4 separate regions of the Homo sapiens genome follow, and regions 2, 3 and 4 are each linked to region 1. The links are contacts of gene promoters, found by promoter capture Hi-C in human tissues and cell types (Jung and others, 2019). All regions are on one chromosome and are shown on one strand. The core of a region is centred on a gene start or on the middle of the fragment in contact, and the rest is flanking DNA. Distances in the headings are between cores, read along the strand shown. Region 1 holds the start of ELAVL3 (ELAV like RNA binding protein 3). Region 2 holds the start of SPC24 (SPC24 component of NDC80 kinetochore complex). Region 3 has its middle 4.9 kb from the start of ZNF69. Region 4 overlaps SMARCA4 (SWI/SNF related BAF chromatin remodeling complex subunit ATPase 4).

Region 1 (3,612 bases), core at 805-3,304:
AGAGAGAGTGATGCGTTGTTTTCCGGGGATGCTGTTTAGGTCGGTGGTCAGGGAGGGCCTCTGAGGAGGTGGCATTTGCGCATAGACCAGAATGACAAAGATCTATCCCAGAAGAAAGCTGGGGGAGGAAATTCTCAGGCCAGAGGAACAACCAGTGCCAAAACCCCGAGGTAGAACTAGCTCGGCGTGTTCCTAAAACAGGAAGCCGCGGGGGGAAGGGGAGTTGGCGGCGGCTGCCCTGGCCCCATTTCCCGGAGGAGGATGCTGAGGCCGCCGCCTCCTGCGGGCCGCTAGAGAGAGGGGCGGGGAGCGAGGCGCGGCCGCTAGGTGGCGTGCGAGGCGCGTAGGCCCTGGTGGCCGCAGCCACGTGACCCTGGGGACCGCAGCCGCGAGCTCAGGCACGTGCCCGGGGGAGCCCTGTGGCGCCACGCGCAGATTGGCCCCGCCGGTTCCTCACCAGTTCGGGGGATGAGGCGGGGCCCCAGCTATGCCTCAGTTCCTGCTGCGGACCGGGGGGCTACCCCAGCCGGGGACAGAAGAATCGGCAAGGATGAGCGAGTCCGGCCGCTGGGGCCGCCCCCGCGAGCTCCCTCCCCCCGCGAGGCAGGTCCCCTCCACTCTCCCCGCACTGCCGGAGCCGGCAGGTTTCCATGGGAACCGCAGCGGGGTCCGCGCGCCCAGGAGCAGCCCCCCTCCTAGCTCAGTTTCCGATGACGGAAACCGGGAGGAACACGGGGTGGGGAACAGACCATCGCTTGGGGCCCCTAGCGCCCGCAGCCAGGTCGCCCCGGCGAGCCCAAGAGGGGCCACCCGGGGATCTGCACCGCCACCGCCCCTATTGCGCGGGCCACTGCGATTGGCCTGCCCTTTCCAGGCGTGGCAGCATCCCCTGGTGCGCGCACTCCCATTGGCTCGATCTCTAGGGCATCTTCCAGTAACTGGTTATCTCAAGGGCCGCCCCTGATTGGGCAAATTAGGCTCTCCTCGCTGGTGGCGCTCTCTGACAGTCTGGAGCCTAAAGGGCGTGCAGGAACGAGGATTGGGTGGGGACTGCCGCTCTCCAGTTAGGGGGTCTGGGCTACCTCGCCGGCAGCGCCCTCGACCGGACTGTCGGATTGCTGTCTGTGGTGCTGAAGCCTCACGCCCTGGCGACCCCGCCCCAGTGTGTGCTAGTTCCCGCGCCCCGACGTAAACATGCACCGGCGCCCGCGCACCAAAGGAGGCTGCGCCACCCCCAACGCCTTAGAGAGAGGCCAGGTTCCCCCTAGCAGAGAGCGAGCATGACTCCACAGTCAGGAGGACCAATCACGAGCCTAGAAAGCCAGGACATTTATGTGGCAGATCCACCCACCCCAGTTCTGTGGGGTCCAAGAAGGATCCGTGGTTTCCCAGAGCTGCATGGCTCCAGCGATGATTGTCCAGAACACTGAGCCCCAAACCTTTTCACCCCCTTCGGAGCAGTGCGGAGTTTCCTTGCACTGGGGAGTGCCAGTCCTTACCTTTTGAACCCTAGAAGGATCCAGCTCACTCAAAACCAACAGCGTCCCAGTCTCCTTCTGCAGAAGACTAGGGCCACAGTAGCCACCCTCCCCCGTGGTCTTGAGGTGGTCTACACTGGTGCCTCCAAATCTGGGGACCCAGGCCTCTGCCTACTAAAATATTGGTTCCTGATCCCCTGTCCAGTTCCCTCAGTGGACAACACCTCTGGAAGGTCGCATATTCAGGCCACTAATACCTCCTCGCTCTGTTGGCTCCTCCAGCTCTAGGAGCTGGACGGAGGAGGGGAGCCCGTCTCCTGGCCCGAAAGCCAGCCCAAGAAGGGGTGCCAGGGTAGGAAGCAAGGGCCTCGAGGGAAGGAGGGCCCAAATCTGGCAACCCGAGCACCTAGGATGCGCTTTTGGGGGATTCAGAGTCCCGACCAGTGCGCGCTCACTTCCACCTGCCGCGCCGTCGGGAGCCGCGAGGAGGCGGAGCTCGGTCGCCGCAGCCAATGAGCGACGCCGGCGCTGGCAGCTGCTGCTATAAAGGGCTGGGGGCGGCGGCGGCGCGGTCCAGAGCGCGGAGCGCGCAGCGCGGGCCGGAGGGAGGGAGGGAGGGTGGGCGAGGGGAGAGGACTTGAACACACGGGACCGGACAGGACCGACCGAGGGGCGGCGGCGAAAGGCAGAGCGCCGCGATCTCTGTCGGGAAGCGCAACCTCCCCGGGCCCCGCGGGGCCGCGCAGGGGGCGTCCTCAACCCCGCGCCCGCTCCCTCTTTCCATCCCCTGCCGCCCGCAGGCCACCCCGGGGCCCGGCCATCCGCGCGCGCATCCCCGGGTTCGGGCCCGTCCCTGGCCCTCGAGGGAGCCGCCGCCTTCATCGCCACATCTGCAGCGGCCGCACCAGAGGCCGCCCGGGCGGGACCCCAGCGTGAGCATCGGGCGCCCCCCTAGGAGTGCACCACCCCCGGAGCCCCCCTCAACACGGACCGCGCCCGCCGGGCACACAAGAATGGTCACTGTAGGTATTCCCCTGTCGCCGAAAGGGAATCGGGACGGGGAGGAGTTGGGCCCAGGCTCCGCGGAGATTGGGCGGGTGCGGCGGGGGGGGTAGGACCAGGCCTAGCTAGGCCCGGGTTGGGGGGGTAGGACCAAGCCTCGGGGCCTGAGAGTGGGCAGGGCCGCGCCCAGAGTGCTGAGGGCGCTTAGAGCTTGGTCTGAGAGGGCCTTAGGGAGACTGACTGCGATTCGGGAGGCGTCCGACGCCGCCCTGGAGGCGGGATTGCCCCCTCTCCAGCAGGCCTGATGGGGGAGGGGCCGCGGCGGCTAAGGATGCTTCCTCCATCCAGGCCCAGACCCCGCAGGCCGCCCAGGCAAACGCAGGGCCCGATCACTGGTGCTGGGCCAAGCCAAAGCGACAAAGCGTCCCCGAGAGCCCTGGGAAAGCGGGTGGCGTCGGATCGCGCGCCCCGGGCCTCGGCCGCACCCGGGAGGCGGGCGTCTCGTCCTCGAGCCCGTCGACCTTGCGGCAAGCGGGGAGGGGAGAGGAGGGGGCGCGCCCGGAGGCCCCGCGGGCCCGCCGCCGCTGCTGCCGCGTCCCTTTGTTTCTCGGCGCTTCTTCGCGGGCCGCAGCCTCGCGCGGGCGCCTCGGGCTGCGGGGAGGGGGAGGGGAGAGGAGGGCCCGCGGGTTGGGGGGGCACCTCTGGGCTCCCGGGTCTCCGCCCCCCGGGAGATGGGGTGGGAGGCCGAGACAGCCCCCTTAGGCCAGGTCCAGGCTCCCCACCTCGCCAAGGCTCTGGGCCGCGAGGTGACCTTGAGCGCGGCCCGCCCGCCTGCTCGCCCGCACCGCTAGCCCCGCGCTCGGTGCTTTCAGCAGCCACGGAGCTGGTCAGCTCCCGAGCGCGCAGCCCCTCCCGCCCTGCCACGCCCTGCCTGGCCACGCCCGGGCACGCCCATCTAGGCCCCGCCCCCAGGGCCCCGGGGGCCCGGCCTCGCCCGAGCCCTCGGATTCCCACTCGGCAGCCCGGGCGTATCCCGGGGGCGGGGCTGGCCAGTTATAGCCCCACCCCGGCTCCACCCCCGCCCCTGCCGCGCGACTCCGCTCCCCGCGCCGCCGCGCGTCCTTTGTCTGGT
Region 2 (4,165 bases), core at 820-3,319, 330 kb after region 1:
TGGGACACCTCCTGGCAGCTAATAAGAAAGGGCTATCTTTAGCCACTATGGCTTAGAAAGGTTAGGAACCTGCCAAGGTCACAGGTAAGCTGCAGCATCAGAAAGTGAACCTGAAGTCTTTTCCCCTCTTGATTTCACTCTGCCTAATTGTTATTCACTGCCTTTAGGCACAAAGAAGTGAGGTCTATGCCAACATTACACAGCTGGTTCAAGAAGCCATGCTCTCAGGCACCAAAGGGTGACACACACCTGTAGTCCCGGCTACTTGGAAGGTTGAAATGAAAGGATCACCTGAGCCACTGCACTTCAGCCTGGGGGACAGAACAAGACCCCATCTCAAAAAAAAAAAAAAAAAAGAAGGAAGAAAAGAAGGCCGGGCACAGTGGCTTACGCCTGTAATCCCAGCACTTTGGGAGGCCGAGGCAGGTGGATCACCTGAGGTCGGGAGTTCAAGACCAGCCTGACCAACATGGAGAAACCCCGTCTCTACTAAAAATACAAAATTAGCTGGGCATGGTGACGCATGCCTGTAATCCCAGCTACTCGGGAGGCTGAGGCAGGAGAATCACTTGAACCTGGGAGGTGGTGGTTGCAGTGAGCTGAGATCGCGCCATTGCACTCCAGCCTGGGCAACAACAGCGAAACTCTGTCTCAAGAAAAAAAAAAAAGAAAAGAAAAGAAAAGAAAAAAAAATCATAGGAAAGCAATGAGATGTTCTTTAGGTGGTAGCACACATAAAAATGTTGCCACGCCAGGCGCGGTGGCTCACGCCTATAATCCCAGCACTTTGGGAGCCTGAGGCAGGCAGATCACGAGGTCAGGAGTTCAAGACCAACCTGGCCAACATAATGAAACCCCGTTTCTACTAAAAATACAAAAAATCAGCTGGGTGCGGTGGCGGGCACCTGTAATCCCAGCTACTCGGGAGGCTGATGCAGGAGAATGCCTTGAACCCAGGAAGCAGGCTGGAATGCCTTGCACTCCAGCCTGGGCAACAGAGTGAGACTCTGTCTTAAAAAAAAAGAGAGAGAAAGAAAAAAAGATGCCATCTTAACATCTTGTTTCTTGCAGAAATACCAGTGTCTAGCATGGAACCAGCACCTTAGAGTCAGCACTGATCTTTTCTTTGTTTTGTTTTGTTTTGAGACAGGCTAGTCTCAAACTCCAGGGCTCAAGCGATCCTCCTGTCTTAGCCTTCCAAAGAGCTCAGACTTACAGGCGTGAGCCACTGCACCCAGCTACATGCTAGGATTCTATGTATGTTTCATTAAACAACTATATAGCACCTACTGAATAGGAGACACTATCACGCCAGGCTGGGCTCGGTGGCTCACGCCTGTAATCCCAGCACTTTGGGAGGCGGAGGCAGGAGGATTGCTGGAGGCCAGGAGGTCGAAGTTGCAATGAGCTATGATTGTGGCACTGCACTTCAGCCTGGGTGACAGAGCAATACCTTGTCTCTAAAAAAAAAGTAATAAGAAGAATTCTCACGCCAACGCTGACACAGGCACTAGTATGACCCTCATTTTACTAAGGAGGAAAGTACCGCACAGAGAGGTGAAGTCTGTCCAGGGTAACACAGCTAGTAAGTGGCAACGCTGGGATTCGAACCCAGTAAATCTGGCTGCAGACGCCATTTTGCTATGCAGCCTCTCATAGAATCTACTTATTCTCTATGCTTATTGTGTATCCCACGCACACACTGTAGGATGTAAGTTCCAGGAGAAGCTGCTCGCTGCTTTGCCGTTAGAACCCCACCCTGCACAGAGCAAGCGCTCGACCTATGGAGAAATAAACAGCCGCTTTCTCTCCCGCGCAGGCGCATCGGGAAGGATAACGGAGCCTCCCCCTTCCTGCGCCGATTGGTCATCACCGATGACTGACGGAGGAGTGGTCGCAGGCGCACCAGGCCAGACCAAAGGCGGCTTAGCCCAGTCTAAGATCCTGTTCCCCATGCCTATTGGCCATTGCTTATGACTGACGTATCAAAAAATCCAATGGAAAGCAACCTCTTCTGGAAGAGGGCGGGCCCCGCGGACAGTCAAATTTGCGCGGGTTGGAGCCTGGCGTAGTCATGGCCGCCTTCCGCGACATAGAGGAGGTGAGCCAGGGGCTGCTCAGCCTGCTGGGCGCCAACCGCGCGGAGGCGCAGCAGCGACGGCTGCTGGGGCGCCACGAGCAGGTGGTGGAGCGGCTGCTGGAAACGCAAGACGGTGCCGAGAAGCAGCTGCGAGGTGAGGGTCGGAGCGTGGTCGCGGGCCCACGGGGGAAGGGGCCCGGGTGCTGGGAGGGGGCGACCAGGCCCACCTCAAAACCCCTTCTCTCCTGGACTCTCCCATCTCCTGCCCTATGCCCCCTGGGACGGCCCCCTCTGAGCCTTAGTTTCACCATCTGAGAAATCGGCTTTATGACAGCAACCATCCCCCACCCCCCAGGGGTTTAGTGGTAAATATAGGAGTCTGGAGGGGTTGGCCCCTTCTGAGCTCTCCGTGAGCAGGAGCTGGGGGTCTCAGGGTTTGAACTGGGGCTCAGGAGTCAAAGCTCCGGGTTTGAATCCTAGCACCCATCCCCATGTCCGCTGTGAGACTTGAGGTGAGTTTCTTAAATTCTCTGTGCCTCAGCTTCCTTCCTTGTCAAATGGTTGTGACAATAGCCCATCCCTTCTTCCTGAAGGCATTCAGATGTTTTATGGAGCATCTGCTGCTGCCAGGCCCTGGGCTCACCGCAACCTCCACCTCCCGGGTTCAAGCTATTCTCCTGCCTCAGCCTCCTGAGTAGCTGGGATTACAGGCGCTTGCCACCGCACTCGGCTAATTTTTGTATTTTTGGTAGAGACGGGGGGTCACCACGTTGGCCAGGCTGGTCTCAAACTCCTGACCTCAGGTAATCTGCCTGCCTCAGCCTCCCAAAGTACTGGGACTGCAGACGTGAGCCACTGTGTCCGGCCCATCTTCACTATCTGTAACTGCACAGTTCAGTGGCCTTAAGCACATTCACACTGCTGTGCAACCATCAGCACCATCATCCATCTCCAGAACTTTCTCATCTTTCCAAACTGAAGCTCTGTCCCCATGAAACACTCACTCCCCATCCCCTTCTCAGACCCTGGCACCCACCAGGGTTCTACTTTCTGTCTCAAATTTGACTCCTCTAGGAACCTTACGAGGAATTGTACAATATCTACCCTTCCTAGTGGAATCATACAATATCTACCCTTTTGTGTCTGGCTTATTTCATGGAGCATAATGTCCTCCAGGTTCATCCATGTCATAGCCTGTATCAGAATTTCCTTTCATTTTGTGTACTTACTGTGAGACAGAGCCTCGCTCCATTACCCTGGCTTGAATGCAGTGGTGTGATCTTGGCTCACTGCAACCTCTGCCTCCCAGACTTAAGTGATCCTCCCACCTCAGCCTCCCAAGTAGCTGAGAACACACTTATGCGCCACCATGCCCAGCTAATGTTTGTATTTTTAGTAGAGATGGGGTTTCACCATGTTGGCTAGGCTGGTCTTAAACTCCCAGCCTCAAGTGATCGCCCACCTCGGCCTCCCAAAGTGCTGGGATGACAGGGGTGAGCCACTACGCCTGGCCAGAATTTCCGTCCATTTTAAAGCTGAGTCATATTTCATGATATAGAAGGATGGACCGCATTGTGTTTATTCATTCATCCATCCATGGGCACTTGGGTTGTATCCACCTTTTGGCTGTGTTGAATAACGCTGCTATGAACACGGGTGCCCAAATATCTCTTCAAGACTGTATTTTTTTTTTCCTTGAGACGGAGTCTTGCTCTGTCACCCAGGCTGGAGTGCAGTGGCGCAATCTTGGCTCACTGCAAGCTGCGTCTCCTGGGTTCACGCCATTCTCCTGCCTCAGCCTCCCGAGTAGCTGGGACTACAGGTGCCCGCCACCACGCCCGGCTAATATTTTTATATATATTTTTTTAGTAGAGACGGGGTTTCACCGTGTTAGCCAGGATGGTCTCGATCTCCTGACCTCATGATCCACACGTCTCGGACTCCCAAAGTGCTGGGATTACAGGCATGAGCCACCGTGCCCAGCCATATTTTCTTCTTTTTTTTTTTTTTCCCAGGACAGTCTTACTCCGCTGCTCAGGCTGGAGTACAGCAGCGTGATCTCTGCTCACTGCGACCTATGCCTCC
Region 3 (3,781 bases), core at 365-2,864, 400 kb before region 1:
ACCATACATCTGCTTGAGGATGACTAAGGGCAGACTGATGGGTAAGTTTTTGGAAGGGCTTAAGCTTATTGCATCTTGTTAAGCTTCTAAGGAACGCCAGATTCTCCCCTCGTCGTGAGAGACATGAGGTGAAATTGACGTCAGGAGAAGGAAGCTGAATGGCCTTTGGGGGCTGGCCTGCAGGTTGTTGGACTTCGGGATATAGCAGAGAGAGAGCTTGGCATGATTTGTTGCCCCAGGCTGTGGAATTTTGGAAAAGAGCTACCATACAGCCTATGCCTGGTCGGCTGAAGGGCTATCCTAGTGGAAAGGAAACAGTCTGGGCCTCTAGTCTGCCATGCATACAAGCGTAACAATTGCTTTTGTTCAATGTGCGGACGGAATATTGAATCCATTCCAACCAGGTATTTACATCTTGATATCCTGTTTTAATTGCTAGGGTTTGTCTTAAATCTTTTACTTCTACAATATTTACTTTAGTAGTATCATTAGGTAGAAAACAGGTGGCAGTCTGATTAGAAGAAAGCTTAGAAGGAGAAGAGAAGGAAGGGGGTGAAGAGAATGAAGGATTAATAAAACGCATTTCGAAAGATCTTATGAGGTCTGTGCTGGCCAAGTTGGCTCCTGTTCCATAGAAGTGACTTAAAGTAGGTTTAGGGTCAGTAGAGGTGGAAATTTGTATGGGATTACATTGATTATACTGGCAATTGGGGAGGTGCTTTTTTTAGTGAAATGAATGTATGGTTTTAAGGATATACAGCCACCTGCTGATGAGGTCTAGCCTTGACATTTGGTTGTCCATAGGACATCATTCTAGCTATGACAGACTTGTTTTCTTATATTTGTTAAGGAACAAGAGTCTTGGTAGGGGGGGCCTTTCACCTTAAAGGGGCAGAGATACTTTTCTGAGGCTGAGACTTGTCTTTGACTTTGGAGATCTTTACAGGGTATGACTAGACATAGCATTAAACGTGATAACTTGGGGTGAGTTTGATTGAGTTACATTAATGACAAGGTGGTCAGCATTGGAAGGGGAAAAGAAGAAAGAGTAATAGAATAGATGTAAGAGGTTAAATTTTTCTTAGCTTTAGTTTGAGGGGGTTTTCCCCTGGAATAATGGCCTACGACTTTGGGGGTGGCGGTGCTTTCTTGACTCGGGTGTGATGGGTCTATCCTTTCTCTGCTGTCCAGACTGCAGTTTCAATGGTGGGAAGTACTAGGCCAGCTCCTCAGGCCGGTGTTGACGCACTGGGAACTCCAGGAGCCGCACCTGTACTGGAAAATTGTGAGTTTTGAGGGAAGAGAAAGTGGAAGATAAACCAAGTATGTAGGAATGTTGGCAGTGGATTGCTTTGAGAGGTAGTTTGGATTAATAGGAAGACAGAAGACATTTGAGTTATGGCAACTAAGTTTCTAGACTTGTTTGGCTAAGGATGTACATTTTCATACACATATAAACTTTAACTGTGCTATACATAGCTTGAGGTCTTTAATGGGTCCTCTAATTTAGGTGGGATAGGACTTCTTTCATAAGAGGTTTAAATAACATTTGAATTCCCTTCAGTGCCTACAGGAGAAACGGCAGCTGGTTCGGATTATCTGATTTGCTAGGTTATTTTCTTAACTCTTGAAAGATAGGATTTTTGGTGCCTGGGGACGTGGAAAATAGCTTTTTTTTTTTTTCTGGTAACTGAAGGTTATTTAACACTTGGGTTATTAACTCTTCATGAACAAGGCTTTGACCTTTATTATTGTCTGAAATTTTCTAAATGTATGAGCCACGATAAAGGTGTATTTAGAATCAATATAGATTAGTATAGATGGTTCCTTTGCAGTTACTTTAAAGCTTGACTAAGTGCAAACAGCTTACAAATTTGGGTAAACTATTAAACAATTTTTAAATTTTATTTCTCTAGGAACTTCTCTATTTATTATTGAACATCTGTTGAATCCTTTTTCCTTTAATCATTTTTGAAGGGGGTTTCTCTTAAGTTTGGCCGGACATTTGTATGGTAATCAGTTAAATCTAAACATGTGTGCTTCCTTTTTAGATTTGGATCTTTCGTTAAGAAACTTGTTAGGTTAAGCAAATTACTAGTAACATTAAACTATCATTTTTAACAGAATAGCCTCATATTTATACACATGTAATTCTTTTTTGGTGGTACATTTTAACATAGGTGACTTTAAAGAATCAGAGTTCTTTTCTGGTGGATATTTTCACTTTTAACACTGGCCTGACTATAATAAATGCTAGTGGATATATCCGCTGAAAGATTATCTACTTCTTGCTCAGGAAACTTAGCTGCGGGGATGCCAGGCTGCTTGGAGCCATCGCTGAAGCCCCGTATTACTTAGCCTCAGCAAAGTAAGGCAGATATCCTATAATGTAGTTTGCATGGGGCATAGGCTGGGGCCTGGCTCGCATGTCATGCAGAGCTGCCGTCAATACAGTGCCAGGACCTTGGACCAGCCAGTGGGCAGGAGCATGGGCTTTGCCGCTGCAGGGGTGCACTATGGGCCAGACAACGCTGACAACATGTTGCGGCAGATCCTTCATGTTGCTAGCCTGGCAAAAGCCATCTGGTGAATTAGGAGCTTGGAGTTCTTTAGGGGAGAGGGACTTAGGCTGGGGAAGAACAGACTTACTGGGCGATGCCTGAGGGGAAGGGTTGGGTATTAGGTGGGGAATGGTCTAGGGGATCTTGCGAGTTGTTCTTTTTGCTAGGATCCCCCAAGCCCCTTCCTTCACTGTCTTTTTCATTAAAGATGGTTCTATCTTAATAGGGCACATGTACAACTCATTTTCCTCCAAATATTAGTTTTTGACTTGCTCCTTTCAATCCTTGGAGGAGGGGAAAGGACAACTCCTTGCAACTAACATAGGGCATAATTTGTTTCTTCTCAGGAGGCAGGTCTTCTACTAGCAACATTTTCTATTAGAAGTTCACAAATCCATCCCTCATTCGACTTAAATTCTGGCCAGAAAACTAAGGGTTCAAGGATTCGTTCTTGAGTCTAAATGGAACAGCAATATTTTATCACTAATTGCTTTTTCTTATGTTTAGTCTTTTCATTATCTTTCTAATGTTTTAACATGAGACCTAGGGGACTATTAGGGGGGATATCTTTGTTGCTAACTTTGTCTTTTTTGCTTGTAATATTTCCTATACTGGGTCCTGGCTAGGCTCAATCCCTCGTGATAGGAATCTCTTGCCTAGGGGGGCTTGCTGTGGCTCAACCCCTCATATTAAGGATCTCTTGCCTATTTTGGGGGTTCCTTGTGGCTCAGCCTCTCAAATTAAGGATCTCTTGCCTATTTGGGGGGTTCCTTGTGGCTCAACCCCTCATATTAGGAGGTCTTTTGCCTATCCCTCACTGGAAGTGTGGCTAAGGCTCAATTCCACTATCCTTTAGCTCCACCTGCTGGAGGTTCCTTGCACCCTTCTTTCGCTTCATCCACTCTGGCCGCTTCCCTCGCAGGTTTGTTTCAGGTTCCTCTTAGCATTGATGGCAGGTCCGTATAAACCTGTGACAGGACCCCCGCAGGGCTGCCCTAAGCCGTGTGAGGTGACCACAGAACCGCAGATTGGACTCACTCGCTCCGCACAGCAGTAGTGCTTGTTACCATTCATGCACTTTCAACCCCCAGAATGCCCTGACACACCCCTCCGACTACCAAAGAATTACTTTGTTGCCCCTGCAACGTTTCCCACCTTGGTCTGTGCACAGAGTTTACCTGGTCGCTGCGGTATTGCAAGCCTCTCTTCCCCGCGTTGCT
Region 4 (3,678 bases), core at 899-3,398, 460 kb after region 1:
AAACCCAGACACTCATGAAAATGAGAGGAGCTGTGAGTCACATGGCCGGCACAACACGGGGCTGGAACAGGGATGCTCCGGGAAGCCAGACCTTGTCCCCTTGCCCGATAAAGAAGCCCCAGGAGCAAATGCCACACTGGAGACACCCATGCTCTGCTAGACCCAGAAGGAAGGGCCACCTCGGCTTCTCATGTTCTCTCCAGCCAAACCCCAAGTGTTGTAGATGTGGACACTGAGGCTGGCAGGGGGACGACGTGATATGGCTGACCACATGTCCAAGCCAGGCCTCCCAGCCTTGAAGCCAGGTGTACAGGACCCTGTTCCACAACTCAGTATAAAAAAACACATCAAAAAGAATTTGTGATGTTTTCATTAGGCGCCTCTCTTCTTGCAAATGGCTTACTACCCCAGGGGAATTGAATGGAGGCTTTAGCTGGAAGAATGCTTTTAGCAAGGTTCTTTGCAATGGTGAAAATCTAGACACAGCATCCACATCCATTAGGGGCTTAAAGGAGTCTGGGCTGCCCCTTACAAAGGGTGCTATAGAAAACACCCACATGATGTAAAGAGTGCCTCTGTACTAGTGAGCAGAGTTTAGGCTCAGAGAGGTTAAGAAAGCTGTCTAGAGTCACAGAGCTTGGAGGCGGCAGAGTGGGATCTGTAAGCCAGGTCTGCCTCAGGAATCCTGTCTCTTGGGGTTAATAGTGGTCAGCTCTCCAAGCACTAAAGATTTGTATAATGGGGCCGGGCGCGGTGGCTCACACCTGTAATTCCAGCACTTTGGGAGGCCAAGGCGGGTGGATCACTTGAGGTCAGGAGTTCAAGATCAGCCTGGTCAACATGGTGAAACCCCATCTCTACTAAAAATACAAAAAATTAGCTGGGTGGTGGCAGGTGCCGGTAATCCCAGCTACTCGGGAGGCTGAGGCAGGAGAATCATTTGAACCCAGGAGGCAGAGGTTGCAGTGAGCCGAGATTGTGTCACTGCACTCCAGCCTGGGCAACAAGAGCAAAACTCCACCTCAAAAAAAAAAAAAAAAAAAGATTTGTATTATTTGCTTTGGATTCTTCTGTATTTTCTAATTTTCTGCCTTTGAAATTGGACAACATAACAGCAGCAATAAAGCCAACAAAACGACAGAAAACCTCTGGGTGGACCACCTGCCCACCCCATCCAGTTGGGAAGCTTCTCACCCTTGGACAATGCCGCCAGTGAACCCCAAGTGCTCGGAAAAGGACTCCTGCAAGGCAAGGAGAGAGGGGTCAGTGACAGGCAGGAGCAGGCCACCGGGCCCCGCTGCGGTCCGCACACACCGCTCGTGCTCAGAGGACAAAGCCCCCACACTGTGTGCTCGGCACGGGCCCACGGCGGCTCTGAGACCAGACACAGATGCCAAAACCATCTTTCTTAGTCCACTGACATCCTTTCCCTCACACTCCTCCAACGAAGGAAAGGACATCCCATACAGCACTCTTCACACCCTGAATGCACGAGGACGTCATGGGGCCACAGCCACGCTCAGGGTGCTGAGACAGCCCCAGGGGCTCTCGGGGCAGCAGGCGGTCTCCAACGACCCTGACACTTTACACCAAGAAACACGAACATATGCATGCTTCTAAGAACCCAGATTCTCAAAGCCACCATGACCAAAAAGGGTTCTGACTCCCCCACACTTCACTGAAGACGGTGGTGACTCTTGACGCCCCGCAACGTGAGAAAAGCCAGTGAGCCAAAGAGACGCAGCAGGACCCCACTGTGGGGGGACACATCCCCAGAGAAGTCTCCAAACGCTCCTGCTCTCTGAGGGCAAGCTTTCAGGGCCCTATATTCCTATCGCACGTTGCGCCCTAACTGCTGGGATTCTTCCCGTAAGCACTGGTGAAGCGAAGACCAAATGAGAGACAGATGTACAGGCATTACCTAATGAAAATATTCGAGTCTGTTTTTAAAGAGCTGTCGAGGAGAAGCCAGCTCTGCCTAGGAGCTCAGCAGACAGCAGGGCCTGAGCCGTCCCAGCCGCGGCGGGCTCACCTCGATGTGCTGGAACATGTAGGGGTGGTTGCAGATCTTCCGCAGCTGCATGATGGTGTTCATCAGGGTCTTGGTGCCGCCTTTGCCCTGGAAGGCAGATGAGAGGGACCCAAATGGGGTCTTGCCCTCCTGGGGTGGGGTGGGCTTGGTGGATGGGTGGGTGTTGGGAGAAGGGCCATGGGGACGCTCTAGTGGGGAAGAGTGGCTTTTGGCACAGCAATTGGGAGTGAGGAGATGGCAGGCTGGAGGCCCGGAGGCCCCCAACAAGCCCTGGGAAACAAATGACTGCCTGGCACAGCAGAGGGCAGATGGCAGGGACAGGGCCAGCAGGACGGGACGGAAACAAGACTGGCAAAGGGCTGAGGCAGAGTCCCCGATGCTTTGTGATGCCAGCTTTGTTCTGGGCACTGTTACTGTGGGGGTCCCTAGAGGGTCTCAGCTGGGCAAGAGGGCCTCAGCCGGGTGAGCCATGACTCAGGGCTCCCTGGGCTCCAGGATGAGGAAGGAGGTGGGGGCGGGGCGGGGGGTGCATGCTCTGGGCTGGGAATGGACTAGGGAACACACTGCTGCTCAGCTCAGGGGAGAAGGGGCACAGACACAACGTCTCGGGGAAGCCAGGCCGAGGTCAAGGCCTTGGGGGCAGAATCAAGGGGTCTGGTGCATTTCCTGGGAGGATAATTTCACTGCTGGTGAGGAGAGCCAGGCAGGTGGGGCCTGGGGCCTGGGATTCTCAGAGCAGCCCCTGCAGGAGACAGCCCGCTCCCTTCCTTTCACTTAATAACAGAGAAGGGGGGCATTCTAGAACACTCTAACCCTGCTGGGGTTAGTGCTGGGCCCAGGCTGCCAATTGCAGAAGGAGCCAGTGTTTCATAGGCAAAGGAGAAGCCACTGGCAGCTGAGTCAGTGTGTCCTGACACAAGCCACCAGCCATCATAACCAGGGCTGGCCAGATGCCCTGGGGATCATGACCAGATCATGACCCGATGGTCAGAGCACGCTCTGCTCTGCCTGCCACGCTGCCGGCCTTGGACACCCAGTGGGGAATGCAGTTGGGGGACTCTGGGGCCCACCTTCTTGTCCTTCTCGGAGCCATCAGTCAGCAGCACGCCCTTGGCCTGCATGTGGCGGTAGAGCACTCGCTGCAGCGCAGACATGTCGCACTTGATGACGTACTCCACCTGCAGGGGACACATAATGCTCACGAGGGCCCAAGGTGGCTTGAGGCCTGACTCCCCCCATCCGAACCCAGCTCTGACCCCCTCGGCCCTGTCATATGAGCTCTGACCAGAGCACACTGGGGTGTGGGTGAGGAGACCCTCACAGCTGGGGAGAAGAGGGGAGACCTGGGCAATGAGAGGAAGCACCAGGCAGAGATACCAGAGGGTTACTGGGCCAGAAAGGGCCCCCCAGCCATCTTCTGGGGGCCTCTCTACAGCCAGCCAGGAAACAAAGAGCCAAGAGGGACAACTGCAGCCGGGGACCCCGAGTCCATGGGTCTTGCTGTGGGAACTGGGCCCAGGGGTGTGGCTGCAGCAGGCCTTGAAAACCCAGAGCCATGATGGGGGGCCGGGGGGCAACCCCAAGCCCACGGCCCCTCCTGATGTGGCCAGGAGAGCCCGCACAGGCACCTGGCCCCCTGACAGGAA

Evidence for each region. The method cuts DNA at HindIII sites, captures the fragments that hold promoters and counts their contacts. A contact is called where the count stands out against the background at its distance.
Region 2: the fragment with the promoter of SPC24 here is called in contact with the fragment with the promoter of ELAVL3 in region 1 in 4 of the 25 tissues and cell types used here (dorsolateral prefrontal cortex, lymphoblastoid cells, mesenchymal stem cells and 1 more).
Region 3: a contact is called between a fragment that was not itself captured here and the fragment with the promoter of ELAVL3 in region 1, in 4 of the 25 tissues and cell types used here (dorsolateral prefrontal cortex, hippocampus, lymphoblastoid cells and 1 more).
Region 4: a fragment that was not itself captured here is called in contact with the fragment with the promoter of ELAVL3 in region 1 in 2 of the 25 tissues and cell types used here (aorta and spleen).

Annotation. Positions count from the first base shown.
Region 1 is chr19:11,479,488-11,483,099 of GRCh38, reverse strand. ELAVL3 (ELAV like RNA binding protein 3) reads left to right here and starts at 2,054. Exons shown (of 7, transcript NM_001420.4): 1 at 2,054-2,500. The coding sequence starts at 2,492. RefSeq lists silencers at 248-687, 718-967, 3,342-3,536. The HindIII fragment of the contact is 31,814 bases long and covers 1-3,612 here.
Region 2 is chr19:11,153,686-11,157,850 of GRCh38, reverse strand. SPC24 (SPC24 component of NDC80 kinetochore complex) reads left to right here and starts at 2,069. Exons shown (of 5, transcript NM_182513.4): 1 at 2,069-2,234. The coding sequence starts at 2,075. RefSeq lists a silencer at 1,953-2,112. The HindIII fragment of the contact is 16,265 bases long and covers 1-3,127 here.
Region 3 is chr19:11,881,040-11,884,820 of GRCh38, reverse strand. No RefSeq gene overlaps it. Among named protein-coding and RNA genes, the nearest start is that of ZNF69, 4.9 kb to the left of the region's middle. RefSeq lists an enhancer at 3,321-3,500. The HindIII fragment of the contact is 6,745 bases long and covers 1-3,781 here.
Region 4 is chr19:11,023,863-11,027,540 of GRCh38, reverse strand. It overlaps SMARCA4 (SWI/SNF related BAF chromatin remodeling complex subunit ATPase 4), which reads right to left. Exons shown (of 35, transcript NM_003072.5): 21 at 3,103-3,210; 22 at 2,033-2,119; 23 at 1,195-1,241. Among named protein-coding and RNA genes, the nearest start is that of LDLR, 64 kb to the left of the region's middle. The HindIII fragment of the contact is 3,199 bases long and covers 549-3,678 here.